Regions from separate parts of the Homo sapiens genome. Here all the other regions are linked to region 1. The links are contacts of gene promoters, found by promoter capture Hi-C in blood cells and fetal thymus (Javierre and others, 2016). All regions are on one chromosome and are shown on one strand. The core of a region is centred on a gene start or on the middle of the fragment in contact, and the rest is flanking DNA. Distances in the headings are between cores, read along the strand shown.

Region 1 (2,700 bases), core at 145-2,644:
CCCCATAAATTAATTTTATCTCAAGGATCTCCTTTTGGCTTTTTTTATTGCTTCATGTCTACATACAAAATACAGTGGCATATTGAATCAATTATCTAAATGCTCTAGGCTGTAAATACACTTTAACCTGGAATGTCAAGATAATTAAGACAAAATTGGATTATTAAGATTATTATTAGTGAGGGCAAATGACATCTAAGATAGCCATGTTAAAAGTGGAGTATCATATTAAAAAGACAACTAGATCCCAGGGAACATCAATAGAGTTTAAGTCCATTGAACAGATACTGAATTCTTTTTCATAATCTGCCAAAAAAAGGTTAGCTTGAAAATTTTCTTTTAGTTTCTCAAATATCACACTGCTGCAGTACACGAACCTTTACTCATTAATAACTAAGGTCCTGATTTTTTTCATATGCTTTGCTCGAAGATGTAGTATTTTGCAGCCATAGACAGTCTTCTAAGATCTCTCCTAGTGTTAACCCACCTATCCTCACCTCTCCCTTGAGATTTTTCTTTATTTTTTGATGAACTATCTGGGCTTTTAAACTTTGTTAACCTTTTTTGAGGATACGGTCACTTAATCTCAATGTAATTTTACTTTCCACAGTCAAAAACTATTGTGTAATACTCATGCACTGGATTTAAATGACTGCTGCCTCTCCTTCCTTTCTTTTTATACTATTGTGGTCTAGGTAAGGCTGATTCTTCCATCATTTGAACCAACAGGCCAGGCTTGGGTTCTCATAAAGCAGACCTTCCAGCAGGAGCGACCAAAGGATGACACTGTCACCTGAAATTGGACTGCTGTTGTACCTGACTTGGGAACATCTTTGAATCAGACAGTAGAAGTGGCTGTCATTTTCAGGGACAGTAGAAAGTATGTTGGCTCTCATCTGCCAAGTAGGCAAACACAATCTTTTTTTTTTTTTTTTCCTTCCAACGTTCTAGGGAGCTCAGCCTCAGGGCTAGCCGCAGCCCCCCACACCCCGGGGCTGCGGTGGGCTGCGCGGTGGATCAGCCTCAGCAGCCCCTGCTCCAGCCTGTAGGGTGAACCGGCCGCTTTCCCAGCAAAGGAGCAATCGAGCTGAGGGTAGCGCCTCCTCCGCAGGAGGGGGCGGGAGCTCGGCTGAGAAAGCTTTCCTAGGGAGTTGCCTTAAAGAAAGAAAGCGGAATTGTCGATCACTCCAGTTGCCAGTTTTATACAATTTTAAGCAGTCGTCGCCACTCGTTTCCCCTTTGCAAAACTGCAAATCACCACCAACCTTGCATCAAATAGAAGTGGGGAGGGAAAAAAAAAGCAAATCTCCTTCTCCCTTCTCACCCTCCCTTTCTTCTCACCCTCCCTTCCTCTCTTACTCGCTCCTTCTCCCTCCCTCCCTTCTGCGGCTGCCGCTAGTCTCTCGGTCTGGCTCTCTCTCCGACGGGACTTAGCAACTTCTTATTTCTCAGCCCCTTGTCCATTTTTTTTTTTCCATCCTTTGCCATGAATTGGATTGACAGAGGCGGGGGAGGCTTTGCTTTCTGCCCCAGGGAATGGCGATTCGCGTCCTGGGGCCGTGCCGGGGAGAATCGGCCGAGGAGAAAGAAAGAGTGATAGAAAAAGAGCTGCAGGAAGGAGGAGAAGGGAGACCTCCATCTGCCGCGGGCCCGGCGCGCTGCAGCGCAGCGCAGCGCCGAGCTGCGCCTCGGAATGGCCCGGAGCCCGCCCTGCGCCCCCGGCTCCTCCAGCGTCAGCGGCTCCTGCGCGCGGGATGCATTGGGCAATTTTTGAAATCCTGAAGTAGGAAGAGACCCCGGAGGATATAAGTCGGGGGTGGGGGTGGAGCAGAGAATCTGTGAAAGATATTCAAAGAGAGAAAAGGGGAATCCTGATCGTTTCTGCCCGTGCTTGTTTTCAACTTGAGCGTGCTAGCCTTTAACTTGAAGAAGTCTCATTGGAGCATCTAGCATTCTCCAGGAGTTATTCGAAAGCTGAAACTTTCAGTGGATTGTGGGCCTGGGGAGAAGAAGGATTCCGAGGGTGGAATTGGGAAGAGCGTGCGTGCGTGTGTGTGTGTGTGTGTGTGCGCGCGCGCGCGTGGGTCGGGGCGGGGGCGTCGGGGGGCCACTGGGAATTCAGTGAAGAGGGCACCCTATACCATGGCAGTGCCCGGCGACGCTGCACGAGTCAGGGACAAGCCCGTCCACAGTGGGGTGAGTCAAGCCCCCACGGCGGGCCGGGACTGCCACCATCGTGCGGACCCCGCATCGCCGCGGGACTCGGGCTGCCGTGGCTGCTGGGGAGACCTGGTGCTGCAGCCGCTCCGGAGCTCTCGGAAACTTTCCTCCGCGCTGTGCGCGGGCTCCCTGTCCTTTCTGCTGGCGCTGCTGGTGAGGCTGGTCCGCGGGGAGGTCGGCTGTGACCTGGAGCAGTGTAAGGAGGCGGCGGCGGCGGAGGAGGAGGAAGCAGCCCCGGGAGCAGAAGGGGGCGTCTTCCCGGGGCCTCGGGGAGGTGCTCCCGGGGGCGGTGCGCGGCTCAGCCCCTGGCTGCAGCCCTCGGCGCTGCTCTTCAGTCTCCTGTGTGCCTTCTTCTGGATGGGCTTGTACCTCCTGCGCGCCGGGGTGCGCCTGCCTCTGGCTGTCGCGCTGCTGGCCGCCTGCTGCGGGGGGGAAGCGCTCGTCCAGATTGGGCTGGGCGTCGGGGAGGATCACTTACTC
Region 2 (2,700 bases), core at 83-2,582, 860 kb before region 1:
AAGGGTTGGATTCTGGTTATCTTTTGGAGTTACTATGGACAAGAATTATGGATGGATGAGATACTGGGTTTTAGAATAAGAGGTAACAGCAACTCCAAGGCTTTTTGGCCTGGGCAGCTCCGTGGCAGAGCCGTGGAGGCTCTCAGGCAAGCAGATTGGGGAGAGGGGAGTATCAAGAGATCTAATTTGGACATATTTAGAGGCCTATAGGGCATTCAGTGGCTCTGTCACTTAGGCTGATGGCTATAAATTGAGAGCTCAGAGGAGAGAGGTGTGGCTACAGATAGAAAATATGGGAATTTTTAGTGTATTTGTGGTATTTATAGGTATCAGACTGGATGAGATTACCTAGGAAATAAGTGTAAATAAAGAGAAAGTTAGCATAAGGATTGAAGTGTTTGGGGCTTACCAAACATTTAATGATTTAAAGGGCAATAGATTTAGTGAAATGGTGGTCTAGTAATGAGCTAGTGTCTCTACAGATAAGGGAGAAGTGATGTAAAAGGGAAGCACTAACTTGCATATGCTTTCATTAGAGCAGCTCCTTTTGATGAAATCCTTAGCTTCACCATGGGAGGAATAGCGATGGCTCCAAAAGAAGGAAAATGAAGGAACCAAAAATAGTGGTAATAATATTAGAAGTCTAGAAAGAAAATAAAAAATTTGCGCAGACTCAAAATAGTCCATGAAAATGAAAAGCTTTTGAGCTATGGAAAACATCTGAGAGGGCTTAAGAACATTGACACTTACATATATTGTAAGCTTAAAAACCTAGGAATGAGTGATGTCCACCCTTAAGTCACAGTGAGGAGGCAGAGGTACCTTAACTGAGGAAAAGTCACAAAGGTGGAATGTAATCTGAAGAATGATTTTTTTTCCTGGGGAAGGAAAGTGGAAGGAAGAGACATCCATAATGAGATAAGGTCTTCGCTGGACACAATAGAAAGGAAAGGAGCTAGGTGAGCAAATTGGAGCTCCAAAGTTCTATAACTGGGAAGGTTTTGATGGAGGCAGTACATGTTAAACAGAATCAATTCTGTTAGTAGTAAAAAACATTCAGTACTAACTGCAAATTTAAGTTACTTTGTTATCAAATTAACTTTTATAGAAAATAATACAAATAATGAAACAATTGGTTAAAAGAAGGCTATGAGGTACTATACTGTTTGGTTTGCCTAATGTGCCTTATTTCATTAATTGAAATATTTTCTTTCGAGCCTTCTCCAGAAGAGGTCAGCAAAATCCTAGTTACCAATCAGTTGGCTTGCTGTGCTTGGTTGGCTTGCATTGTTTTTGTGTATTATTTCATTGTAGAGGTATTTTGTTTTAGCAGCTCCAGACCTGTGTTTGGGCTTTTAAATTTTGTTGCCAAGTCTAGAATCAGAGTATTTATTTGACTACAGACTTTTTTTGTTGTTTTTAAAAAAACCATATTTTAAAAAATAAAAACTAGAAACGGGGATTCACCATGTTGTCCAGGCTGGCCTCGAATTCCTGGGCTCAAGCAGTCCTCCTGCCTCAGCCTCCCAAAGTGCTGGGATTATAGGTGTGAGCCACTGCGTCTGGCCTCACCATAGGTTTTTATATAGTGGAGACAGTGTTTTGTTTTTGCTTAAAGCTCTGCTTTTACTCAGTCCTAATATGTTTTCAGGATTACAAGATTATTTTGTTTGGGTGGTTGGAACTTGATTAAAAAAATTGAGATTAAGACTATTAAAACACTAAAGTTCTAATTTTGTTTATATGGAAATTTTAAGAGTTTGACGTTATTGTTTTGCCTGATTTTATTTTATTTAAGCATTATCTTAATTTTCAGAATCTGGTAATGAAAGGAAAATATATTGCTTTTCTTATACTTTTTTGGGTCTTTCTGTTAGATCGATGTTAACTTGCATAGATTCCTTAAGCTTAAACCTAGACTGATTGGCCTACCTTTCATTTAAAATAAAACCAACTACAGCAAAAAACTCCAGGAGATAAACAAATGCCTTAAGTTGTAAATTAGAGACTTTTCCTTCTCATTAGTATTTTTTCTTTACTGTTTATTCATTTAAAAATATTTCAAAGGCTTTCTTCTTCCTCTTCCGGAACGTTGTCTGCAGGCACTCAGAATGGTCCAGCATTTGACATACTGTCGTAGGCTTTTCTACAATACAGCCTCTAACAAAACAAGTCTGTCCCAGACCCTTGGTAATAGAGTTGTTTACCTTTTTACTAAGAACGTTGGGAAAGCACCAAAATCTGCATGTGGCATGTGCCCAGGCAGACATGGAGGGGTTCGTGCTGTGAGACCTAAAGTTCTTAATGAGATTGTCCAAAGCAAAGAACATGTCAGCAGGGCCTGTGGTGGTTCCATGTGTGCTAAATGTGTTTGTGACAGGATCAAACATGCTTTCCTTATTAAGGAGTAGAAAATTGGGGTGTAAGTGTTGAAGGCACAAGCACAGAGTCAGCTAAATTGAAAAATGCAACTTTTTTAAGTAATAAAAATGAAAAGACTTGAAAAAATTTCATCTACTATGAATGCTTTTGGTTGGCTAAGCTAAGCCACATACTTAGTAAAACAAATGGCATTTTCATTCTCTTAATAATAACATGGCTTTGGCTTGATTAGTTAAAGCTTCTTTAATTCACATATATTTGTGAAAATATATGATTAAAAGTGAAGTTGAGGCTGGGTGCTGTGGCTCACACCTGTAA
Region 3 (2,700 bases), core at 102-2,601, 800 kb before region 1:
ATGCTGAGTATAGGCCCCCAATCTCTTCTGGCTTGTAGAGATTCTGCAGAAAAATCCACGGTTAACCTGATGTATTTCCCGTCGCAGGTGACCTGCCTCTTCTCTCTAGGTGCCTTTAATATTTTTTCTTTCATGTTTACCTTGGATAATCTGATGATTATGTGTCTTGGAGATGGTCATTTCTCTGCATTTCCTGAATTTGAATGTTGGTCTCTCTGTCGAGGCTGGGGAAATTTTCCTGGATGATATCCTCAAATACGTTTTCCAAGTTGTTTGTTTTCTCTTCCTCTCTTTCAGGGATGCCAGTGAGTCATAGGTTTTCTCTCTTTACATAATCCCATATTTCTTGTAGTTTTTGTTTATTCTTCTTTATACCTTTTTTCTGACAGTTATTTTTGAGAATCAGTCTTCAAGCTCTAAGATTCTTTCCTCAGGTTGGTCTGTTCTGCTGTTAATACTTGTGATTGTATTATATAATTTCTGTAATGCGTTTTTTGGCTCTATTAGATCAGTTTGGTTTTTTCTTATAAAAGCCATTTCATTTTTCAGCTCCTGGATTGTTTTACTGCAATCCTTAGATTCCTTGAATTGGGTTTTGACTTTCTCCCCAGTCTTGATGATATTCAATCCTATTTATATTCTGAATTCTGGCTCTGTCATTTCATCCATTTCAATCTGTTAAAGAACCCTTGCTGGGGAACCAGTGCCATCATTTGGAGGAAAGAAGACACTCTTGTCTTTTTGAGTTGCCAGAGTTCTCGCACTGGTTCTTTCTCATCTGGGCTGAAGTTCCTTTATCTGTGCTGTAATTTGAGTACAGTCAGTTTTCTGGATGTTTTCAGAGGGCCGAGGCTTTGTGCAGGGTCTTTATTTGTATTAACAGGTGAATTCTTATCTTTGGTTTCACAGGAGGATGTATTAGCAAAACGTTTTTGGTGTTGAAATTTGGGCTGTGATCCAGCAGATGGCGCTTAAGTGTAATGGCCAATTAGGTAGGCTCTTGCTCAGCCATGTGGGTCCTCTGTATTTCCTTGTGTTTGTAGTTGTACTCCCTCTCAGCACTCCCAATGTTTGGGCTCCTCTACTCCTCGATTCTGGCTGCAGATCTCGGCTTGCCACTCCCGGGCTGCACACTGAAGTCCTGAGCCGAGCTCAGGCTTTATGTTCCCTCCACAGCTTGGAGGAAGCAGGGGAAGGGATCTTGGCGGTGGCTGTGGAAGAGGTCCTTTCACTTGTCTCTTGGGGATCCATCCCAGAGAAATGCCGAGCCGCTCCCAATCAGCGGGATTGGCCGAGGGTGAGGTGGCTGGGTTGTGGGCCTAAGCCAAGGGGCCCGGCCTGGTGGTGAACAGGGGGGCCGATGGCTCACAGGAGAGACAGACTGGCCTCTTCTCCTTAGGACGGCTGTGGTGTGCTGGAAGTGTGGGTAAAGCACTCAGGGTTTTTGTTCCTTTCCCAATCTGAAGGCAGCAAGGGCAGGACCGCTGCGGTGGCAGTGAGAGACGGGCTTCTGGTTGTCTCTGGGAGCTCTCTATCTTGGAGATGCGCAGAGCTGCTGCTAATGGGAATGTTCAGCCAGGGGGTGAGACGGCTGCGCTGCTGGCCTGAGCCGGCCCTGCTTGGTGAAGAGTGGGGGCCGAGGGCTCACAGGAAAGGAGACTGGGCCCCTCTCTCTGCGGTGACTGTGGCGTGCTGGAGGCGCCAGTAAAATTTCCAGGCTCTGTTCCTTCTCCAGTCCAAGGGCAGCAAGGGCAGAACCGATGCAGTGGCTGCGACAGAGGGGCTGTCGGTTGCCTTTGGGACCGCCCCCCCTCTCCAGGGAAACTCAGAGCCCCCAGCAAAATGGGTGTGCTCAGCCGGGGGTGGGGCGGCTGCTCTGTGGTCCAGAGCTGGGGGCCCTGCCTGGTGAAGAGTGGGGGTGGGGGCTCTCAGGGAAGAGAGACTGGGCTTCTCTCTGCATGGTGGCTGCCATGCGCTCGCTCGAGGTTCCAGAGTAGCGAGCAGGCCCTTTGTTCCTTCCCTAGTTCAGGCTGGTCGTGCGGGGGCCCAGGTTGGGAGGCCCTGCCCAGTGAGGAGGAGCAAGGGCTGTCACCCCATGGAAAACAGTCTGGCAGCTTTTCCACGAAGCGCTGCTGTGCTGGAGGCCTGTCTTAGTTCCTAATCACAGCTTCCCTCAGGAACCTGGGGGGCAACAGGAGAGAGGATGGCAGAGCAGCAAAAATGGTGGCCTGCCTGCATCCTCTAGGAGCCGTGGCCCAGGGAAGTGGAGAGTTGCCCCCCACCTAAGAGTTAGGCGGGGCTGGCTGCGCTAGGGTCCCAGGCCAGTGGGTCTTGTCCAGTGAGGTGCAGTGGTGCGAGGCTCAAACTCCTGGGCTCACACAATTCTCCTGCCTCGGCCTAAGTGCTGGGATTACAGGCATTAGCCACTGCGCACTCTACCTTTTTTTTTTTTTTTCTTATTTTTTCTTCCAAACAGGATTTTGAGAGCCAAAAGAAAGGAACTGAAAGAATCTAGGCACATTATACTATAGCTATATAATTAGCAAGAAACTTGAGGAAGAATGAGATTGCCTCATCTGTGGCCTTGGGGAGAGGAGAGGAGGACATCTGGGTTATGGGATTAGAGTTTACAGGAGATTAGAGTTATGGGGTGATAAGCCCTCTGCTGGAGGGTGGAGAGAAATGAGGTGGGTATCAGGA
Region 4 (2,700 bases), core at 58-2,557, 590 kb before region 1:
TTCTTGGAGGGTTTTTTGTTGTTGTTGTTCATTTTAATTCTTCTTTCTTTATTTTTATTTGCCTGGGTCATTTTAGATAGCCAGTCTTTGACCTCCGAGATTCTTTCCTCAGCTTGGTCTATTCTGCTGTTAATATGCACAATTGCATTATGCAATTCTTTTTTTTTTCTTTTTAGACCAGTCCCCCATTATGCAATTCTTGTAGTGTGTTTCTCAGCTCTATCAGATTACTTTGGTTCTTTTTTATAATGGCTATTTCATCTAACGGCTCCTGTATTATGTGATTCTTAGGTTCCTTGGATTGCATTTCAATGTCCTCCTGAATCTCGATGATCTTTGTTCCTGTCTGTATTCTGAATTCTATTTGTATCATTTCAACCATTTCAGCCTCGTTAGGACAGTGTGGGCATTTGGAGGAAAGAAGGCACTCTGGCTTTTTTAATTGCCAGAGTTCTTGTGCTGGTTATTTCTCATCTGTGTGAGCAAGCTGATGTTCCTTTAACTGTGGTGTTGAGTACAGTCAGTTGACTTCCTTTCTGGATGTTTTCAGAGGGCCAAAGCTTTGTTCAGGTGTTTATTTGTAGCTAAATTCTTGTTTTTGATTTCACACGGTGAGTATATTAGCAAAGTATTTTTTGGTATTGATGTTTTGTGCTGTGATCCAGTAGGTGGCACTTAAGTGTAATGGCCGGTAGGTAGGGTCTTGCTCAGTTAACACAGCTCCCCTGTATTTCTTCACAATTGCAGTTGTACTCCCTCTCAGTGCTCTGAAAGTGTGGGTTTATCTCCCACTTGAGTGCTGGCTGCATGTCTCAACTTGGCACTCCTGGGCTGCACACCACAGCTCTAGGGTGATTTCTGGCTTTATGTTCCTTTCCCAGCTTTGAGGCAGCAGGGGAAGGGACTTCAGCGGTGGTTGTGGCAGAGGGTCTTTGATTTGTCTCTTTGGGCTCCAGCCCAGAAACATGCAGAGCTGCTATCAATCAGTTTAATTAGCCTGGGGTGGGGCAGCTGAACGGTGGGTCCACACTAATGGGGCCCCACCTGGTGATGAGCAGGGGCCTTGGGTGGGACCTGGGGGAGACAAACTGGCCTCTTCTCCTTAACGCAACTGCCATTCGCTGCAAGTGTGATTAAAGCACTCAGCGTCTTTGCTTCTTTCCTGGTCTGAAGGTAGCAAGGGCAGCACCACTACAGTGGCAGTGGCAAGGGGGTTTTTGGTTGCTTCTGGGAGCTCCACCTCAGAGAAATTCGAAGCTGCTGCTCCCAGGAATGTTCGGCCATGGGGTGGGGCAGCTGCTCTGCTAGCCTGAGCCGGGCTCTGCTTGTTAAAGAGCAGGAGGTTTGTCCACAGCTCACAGGGATGAGAGACTGGGCTCCTCTCCACTTGGTGTGCTGGAAGCTCGGGTGAAGCCCTTAGATTCTTTGTTTTTTCTCCAGACTGAGGGCAGCAGAGGCAGAATCATTGCTGTGGCAGTGGCAGGGGGGCTTTTGGTTGCTTCTGGGAGCCCCTCACCCGGGAAGAACAGCCCCTACCAGTGGGTATGCCTAACCATGGGTGGGTCAGCTGTTCTGCAGTCCCAAGCCGGGGGCCCTGCCTGGTGAAGAGTTTTGGGGGCAGTGGGGAGGGAGGGTGTCACAAGGAAGAGAGACTGGATTCCTTTTTGTCTGGTGGCTGCAGTATGTTGCATTTGCCAGCGTAGCTATTGTGCCTTCTGTTCCTTCCCCAACCTGTGGGAGGTTAGGGTGTTATTACTGTAGCTGCAGAGGCAGAGGGGTTGTGGGTTGTCTCTGGGATTTCCTCCCACCTCTGACTAAAGGGTTCAGGAAGGGGCAGGGTAGTTTTGCTAGAGTCCCAGGTTGGGTGGCCCTACCCAGTGATGAGAAGCTGAGAGAGAAGCCCACGTGGAGAACAATCCAGTCACTTTTCTGTGGGAGGGCTGCACTGTTCTGGGGAACTATGCCACTTCCTAATCACCGTGTACTCTCCAGACCAGAAGGCAATAGCAGCAGGATCTGGAAGACGCAAAAACTGTGGCCAGCCTCTCCCTCTGCAAGCTTCCGTCTCAGGGAAGTGTAGATCTGTACTAGCCTGAGAGCCCTGGTTGTGGTGAGTACAGAGTGGCTGGAGTCCCAGATAGATGGGTCCCACTCAGTGAGGAGAAGTGGGATCAGGGACCCATGTAAAAAACAATCTGGCCACTTTACCTTGGGTCAGTTGCGCTGTGTGGGGGATCCATGCCACTCCCTAATCACCACTTGCTCTCCAGAGCCTGAAGGCTATAGCAGCAGAGACTGCAAGGCAGCAAAAACTGGTGGCCGGACTCTCCTTCTTCACACTGCATCCTAGGGAAGTGCCGAGTTGCTACCAGCCTGAGAGCCCTGGTTGGGGTTGGCTGGAGTCCCAGGCTGTGGGGTCCCACCCAGTGAGAAGAAGCAGGACACATATAAAAAACAGTTTGGCCGAATATCCTTGATGAACGTTGATGTAAAAATCCTCAACAAAATACTTGCAAAACAAATCCAGCGGCACATCAATGGTGTATATACAGGGAGCTAATTCTCCATGATAAAGTAGGCTTCATCCCTGGGAAGCAAAGTTGGTTCAACATAGGCAAATCAATAAATGTGATTCATCACATAAACAGAACAAAAGACAAAAACCACATGATAATCTAAATAGAGGCAGAAAAGGCTTTT

What was found. Contacts are between HindIII fragments. The CHiCAGO score rates a contact against its expected background, and 5 or more counts as called.
Region 2: a fragment that was not itself captured here is called in contact with the fragment with the promoter of PDE3A in region 1 in 1 of 17 cell types (megakaryocytes); the score reaches 7.3 in megakaryocytes.
Region 3: a fragment that was not itself captured here is called in contact with the fragment with the promoter of PDE3A in region 1 in 2 of 17 cell types (megakaryocytes and erythroblasts); the score reaches 12.1 in megakaryocytes.
Region 4: a contact is called between a fragment that was not itself captured here and the fragment with the promoter of PDE3A in region 1, in 1 of 17 cell types (M2 macrophages). The highest score is 5.7, in M2 macrophages.

What each region holds. Positions count from the first base shown.
Region 1 is chr12:20,367,143-20,369,842 of GRCh38, forward strand. PDE3A (phosphodiesterase 3A) reads left to right here and starts at 1,395. Exons shown (of 16, transcript NM_000921.5): 1 at 1,395-2,700. The coding sequence starts at 2,143. It overlaps PDE3A-AS1 (PDE3A antisense RNA 1), which reads right to left. Exons shown (of 2, transcript NR_186033.1): 1 at 2,699-2,700. RefSeq lists a silencer at 2,433-2,700. The HindIII fragment of the contact is 3,200 bases long and covers 1,137-2,700 here.
Region 2 is chr12:19,506,793-19,509,492 of GRCh38, forward strand. All of the region lies in intron 5 of AEBP2 (AE binding protein 2), which reads left to right. It also overlaps the pseudogene RPL34P25. Among named protein-coding and RNA genes, the nearest start is that of AEBP2, 69 kb to the left of the region's middle. The HindIII fragment of the contact is 1,145 bases long and covers 761-1,905 here.
Region 3 is chr12:19,572,067-19,574,766 of GRCh38, forward strand. All of the region lies in intron 3 of LOC101928387 (a long non-coding RNA gene), which reads left to right. Among named protein-coding and RNA genes, the nearest start is that of AEBP2, 130 kb to the left of the region's middle. RefSeq lists an enhancer at 1,079-1,168. The HindIII fragment of the contact is 2,808 bases long and covers 1-2,700 here.
Region 4 is chr12:19,778,303-19,781,002 of GRCh38, forward strand. No RefSeq gene overlaps it. Among named protein-coding and RNA genes, the nearest start is that of LINC02398, 240 kb to the right of the region's middle. The HindIII fragment of the contact is 1,498 bases long and covers 559-2,056 here.